Regions from separate parts of the Homo sapiens genome. Here region 2 is linked to region 1. The links are contacts of gene promoters, found by promoter capture Hi-C in human tissues and cell types (Jung and others, 2019). All regions are on one chromosome and are shown on one strand. The core of a region is centred on a gene start or on the middle of the fragment in contact, and the rest is flanking DNA. Distances in the headings are between cores, read along the strand shown. Region 1 holds the start of CGNL1 (cingulin like 1). Region 2 overlaps GCOM1 (GCOM1, MYZAP-POLR2M combined locus).

Region 1 (2,700 bases), core at 84-2,583:
TGGGATAAGTAGCATCTTTTTTTTTTTTTCTTTCTTTCCTGGCAATGAATCACTATTATTAGGTCGGAGCAAAAGTAACTGTGGCTTTTCCCATTGAAAGTAATAGCAAAACTGCAATTACTTTTGCACCAACCTATTACTTTTTCAAGTCCTTTTATATTGTTTTGAATTGTTAAGTTTTCAAGGGTCTATTTCATTCAATATGTCAGCAAACATGTATTAAGTACAGGTTGGGCAGGGCGCAGTGGCTCACATCTGTAATCCCAGCACTTTGGGAGGCCGAGGCGGGTAGATTACTTAAGGTCAGGAGTTCGAGACCAGCCTGACCAACGTGGTGAAACCCCGTCTCTACTAAAAACACAAAAATTAGCCGCGCGTAGTGGTGGCCACCTGTAGTCCCAGCTACTCGGGAGGCTGAGGCACGAGAATCGCTTGAACCCGGGAGGCAGAGGCAATGAGCCGAGATCGCGCTACTGCACTCCAGCCTGGGCAAAACAGCAAGACTCCATCTCCAAAAAAAAAAAAAAAAAAAAAAAGTACAGGTTGTTGTTTTCTCAGGGAATCCTCATAGCTGGTGAAGTATCCAGCTTTTCATTTTACGGATGAGTGAACTGGGGTTTAGAACTGATAACATTTTGCCCAAGTTCTCACAGCTAGCGAGAGGCGTGCCGCAGTTTATCGTGGGGTGGGTCTAAACAAGGACCTAAAAACTGTATTCGAATCCCAGCCCTACTACCGCCAGCTGTGTGACCTTACGAGGCGCCTCACTTTACTGTTTCTCCAACAGAGACAGACATTTCTTGTTACCGCGCAAGTGGGATAACCTCCCCACCAGTGTCTAGACACAGTAGGTGCTCAATAAATAGGTGTGGGTTTGCGGTGGCAGAAGAGCGCTATCCCTTAAGTTTCTGACAGTGAGGGGGAAAAAGGCTAAGCAGGGAAAGGAAGGGAAAGGGGTAAACTGAGCTCGGCGCAGTCGAGAGCGCGAAATAGGGAGGGCTTCCTGCAGGCCAGGAATTTGGAGAGGCCGAGGCTGGGAGAAGAAAAATGCCCGGTGACGGCGGAGGGGAGGTGGAAGGACGAACGGCTCCGGGAAGGGGTGAGGTCTAAGCGCAGCCCCGGGCCCAGCGGAGCCGAGGGCGGGTGGTGCGGGGGTTCCTGGGTAGGTTCGTCCCGACGGGCCGCGGGCGGATTGAAGGGAGGGTTGGGCCCGCCGGCAGCCCCGGCGGGTCCAGGCCCCCGGCCAGCCCCTGCCCCTCCTCCCAGGAGGGCGGGCGGCGACTGCGGGGCGGGGCGCGGGCTCGCTCGGCCTCCCGGCGGCGCCGCGGCCCTTGCACTCCGGCCGGGCTCTGCTGGCTGCGGCGGGAGCTGGACGCGGGAGGAGGCGGCGGCGGCGGTGAGTGAGCTCCGGGCTGGAGCGGGGCGGGGTGTGCGCCGGCAGCCGGGTTTCGGGGTGCTAGGGGCCGCCCAGGGCGGCGGGACCCCCAGGGGTTCGGGCTCAGCCAGGTGCACTGTGCTCAGTCCGCGCGTCCACTCTCGGTGACCCGCGCCGCGCGTGTCCTGGGGCTCGAAGATGCGACCCGGACTCCCGCGCCGCGCCCCGCCGAGGGCAGGCGCAGAACAGATGCGGGCGATCCCTGGGGAACCCGCTTCGGGGCGGGGTGGGAGGGAGGAGGCCCTGCAGAACCTCCCTTTAGTGAAGAGGGACTTTCTGCCTTCGCACCCCTGCCTGGACCCTCCGGCTCTAGTGACAGCTGGGAGAGACTCACACGAAGCAGTTTCTGACCTATCCTGTCGTACACAAGTCCTCGGCGTGCTCGGCCGGACCATCCCCTGGAAAGAAAGGGGCGTGTGACCTTTCTCTCCCCGATCCTCCAGACCACTGCGCCGCCCAGGGAGGTCATCCCCGAGAGAGCCCCCGCCTCACTCGGAGCACACATTCTAGCTCTCCCCGGGACTTTTCCAAGTTGCATCACTGTTTGGCCTCTAGACAGGTACTTGGCTGTCATGTTGGAGTTAGTTACACAGGATTTTTGAAACTTTGTATATTTGCTTTGTGTGTTCTTCACCCTAAGGCCGCTGCCCTCCCGACTCTGCTTATGCCGCTCAAAACGTTGCTCAAAGCTCGCTGGGAATGCTTTTGCGGGCATTGGTTCTCAAACTTGGCCCCACATCTGGAGAGTTTTAAAAAATACTGGTGCCTGTGTCCCACTCCCAGAGATCTGGATTCGGCTTGCCTGGGTTGCAGCCTGGACAATGGAATTTTTAAGACGCCGCAGGTGATTCTAATGTGCAGGCAAGTTTGAAAACCTCTGCTTTGAGAGTTGCTCCCACCAGCCACTCTTCGGACGGCTCAAGATCAGTCCTGATCTAGAACTCATCTCAGGTCCTCATAGCTCTTCCCTAATCCACCTCTCCACCTGAAGAACCTGTTGATTGGTGCTTTCCAACTTTAGACAGTAGATGGTGCCTTTACTGAAGATCCCTTTGTTTCTACCTCTCTGTTTACAGTCAATACTGCCAGGGCACTTTCTGCCAAGGAGGTGGGAGTGTAGGCATTAGAACCGAGCAGTCCTTGTCAGGGTCAAGGTTATAATACAGGGTTGTCCTATTCAGGGAAAACCAAGTGATAATTTGACTTGTCATATTCGGGAATGATTTCAGATTAAAAGGAGAAAAAATACTTTAGGGTTTGGTCAG
Region 2 (2,700 bases), core at 196-2,695, 310 kb after region 1:
AAATAAACAAGGGACAGTGGCAGGCTGTGGAACTAGCAACAGTGGAAGCTGTTACCACCCTTGCCTGAGGAGGCAGGGGAGAAAGCTGGGGAAGATAACAAGTTGGGGAGCTGTAGCTATGGGCCCTGGTAGAGGGATGCCGCCAACTACCAAGCTGCAGCCTGGCTGGGAAAGGAAAAATGTCCCGACCTCTTTGTCCTCTCATTCCCTGATCCCCTGCTACCACCTTGCAGTAGGCCAAAAGGAACTGAATTTGAAGGGCAAATGGATGCTGACTTTTCCGGGCCACAGAGTAGGGTGGAGAAGGGGCAGAGTAGGGCTGAATGGCAAAAGAAGAATGCCCAGCACAGCTGTTATGTCTCTGTTATAGTTCCTAACACAGTACATGAAAATTTTTTATGTACATATCTTTCCCACCAGGTGACAAGTCCCTTGAATGCATGTTTCATATTTTTCTGAACCATGGATGCCTAGTACAACCTTTACAGGTTGTTAAAAATAACTTTTTTATTTTTAACCTGTCGTAGTCTGTTCTGGCTGCCATAACAAAGTACCATAAACTAGTTAGCTTATAAACAACAGAAATTTTTTTCTCACAGTTCTGAAGGCTGGGATGTCTAAGACCAAGGTGCCAGCAGATCCAGTGTTTGGCAAGGACTTGCTTTCTGGTTCATGTATAGTGTCTTCTTGCTATGTCCTCACATAGCAGAAGGGATGATGATGAATATTTCTGGGGCCTCTCTTTTTTTTTTTGAGATGGAATTTAGCTCTTGTTGCCCAGGCTGGAGTGCAGTGGCATGAACTTGGCTTACTGCAACCTCTGCCTCCCGGGTTCAAGCAGTTCTTCTGCCTCAGCCTCCTGAGTAGCTGGGATTACAGGCATGTGCCATCATGCCCAGCTAATTTTGTATTTTTAGTAGAGACAGAGTTTCTCCATGTTGGTCAGGCTGGTCACGAACTCCCGACTTCAGGTGATCCCCCTGCCTCGGCCTTCCAAAGTGCTGGGATTACAGGCGTGAGCCACCACGCTGGGCCTGGGGCCTCTCTCATAAGGCCACTAATCCCATTCATGAGGGCTCCACCCTCATGACCTAATCACCTCCCAAAGTCCCCACCTCCTAATACATCACCTTAGGGGTTAGGATTTCAAAATATGAATTTGGGAAAACGTAAAGTCCATTGCAGGGCCTGTTTGTAATATTTAAGTGAAATATTAAGCTGCATTATTGTCTTTTTATTTTTAAACACTTAAACACCATTTTCTAGAGTTGTCTTACCATGTGAAGCATATGGGGGGTTTTGTTTTGTTTCATTTTCCTGACCTGCATTTTCTCATTTCTCAGCCAAACAGGCAGGACTCGTGAAATTGTGATGCCTTCTAGGAACTACACCCCATACACAAGAGTCCTGGAGTTAACCATGAAGAAAACTCTGACTTAGGCACTCAGAGGCATACACTTTTTACAGATGGACAAAAGCTCTGGAACCCTGTGGCTTCAAATCCTTTGGGAAGGGTGACTGTTGTTTCCCCTACACACAGTGTAAGCCGGAATGGGAATCGCTGAGGCTCTGATCCACTTCTAAGACAGGAAGGAAAGTGAAGGCAGAGTGAGCAGGTAAGAGAGGGATATACAAGGTCACATTTCAGACACCCACTCGGCATACCCTGCCGTACTGCATCATCATTTGTTTTCTTTGTAGACACTGAAATCCTATCAGGAGGATTCCTTCACAATGTATTTTATTTGCTAGACTTTGGTTGGGAGGGAAAAGGACATTAATTTGAAGTTTCATGTTATTCATGCCAGGATTGTTTGATAGAGCATGAAGGTTTTGTTTACCCATAAAAGTATTAGAGGCAGCGTTTCTCTGATACAGAGAGGCCTGTCCACAAGAAGCATGGGCACCCAGCCAAACTTGAACCTGGAAGGGAGGGTTCCCGGCCTGCAGGTGCTCTTTCCTCTTGGTCCCAAGCATCTGTGCAGGGTCGTGGGAGCCACACTGAGAGACTTGTGTGGGCCAGACAAGCTTCATTCTGATGCGCTAGTCCCTTGGTTTAATTTGTGCCTTATGCTTTCATTGGACCAGCTGAAATCACTGTATTTATTCAACTAGTGATTTTTTTTTCTTTCTCACTTTAACTTAAAGAGAATTTTATATGTCTTGGAAATTTAATAATTTAGTGTTCTCAGTATCAATTGGTGTTTTTGTTAAACGAATGAATCATCTGTTCATGCATGCTCTACTTTGATATTATAACCTATGTCACATGTGTTTAATAAATACCATATATTTTGTTCTACTAATGTTGTCTCTCTGTTTCATCCATGACCATGTAGAAGGGGCAGAGAGCAGATCAGGCTCTGGAATGAGTGTCAAAGTCAAATCACATGATCTTCCAGCCAGTACAATTCATACAAGCATCTGTAAACCATAAGATTGACTGTGTGTGTCGGGGGAGGGTGGGGGGCCTATCTGTCTTTTTAATTGCTGAACTTTAGTTAATACACCATGTGGAAAAAGCAAGATACCTTAATGATCACAAAGTACAAAAATAGATTTTACTTTTAAACCTTTCCTCAAACCTCCCACCCCTTACTGTCTCCACTTCCAAAAAACCAAAGAAATAAAAAAGTAAGAAAGCAAAGCAACTCAGTTAGATAAATCACTGTGAGTCAGAATCATGCTAAGAGGAAAATG

Evidence for each region. Contacts are between HindIII fragments. The study calls those that stand out against the background at their distance.
Region 2: a fragment that was not itself captured here is called in contact with the fragment with the promoter of CGNL1 in region 1 in 1 of the 25 tissues and cell types used here (neural progenitor cells).

The regions. Positions count from the first base shown.
Region 1 is chr15:57,375,172-57,377,871 of GRCh38, forward strand. CGNL1 (cingulin like 1) reads left to right here and starts at 1,334. Exons shown (of 19, transcript NM_032866.5): 1 at 1,334-1,396. The HindIII fragment of the contact is 14,520 bases long and covers 1-2,700 here.
Region 2 is chr15:57,683,059-57,685,758 of GRCh38, forward strand. It overlaps GCOM1 (GCOM1, MYZAP-POLR2M combined locus), which reads left to right. Exons shown (of 17, transcript NR_104371.3): 12 at 1,344-1,616. MYZAP (myocardial zonula adherens protein) reads left to right here. Exons shown (of 13, transcript NM_001018100.5): 13 at 1,344-2,306. The coding sequence ends at 1,440. Among named protein-coding and RNA genes, the nearest start is that of POLR2M, 22 kb to the right of the region's middle. The HindIII fragment of the contact is 8,067 bases long and covers 1-2,700 here.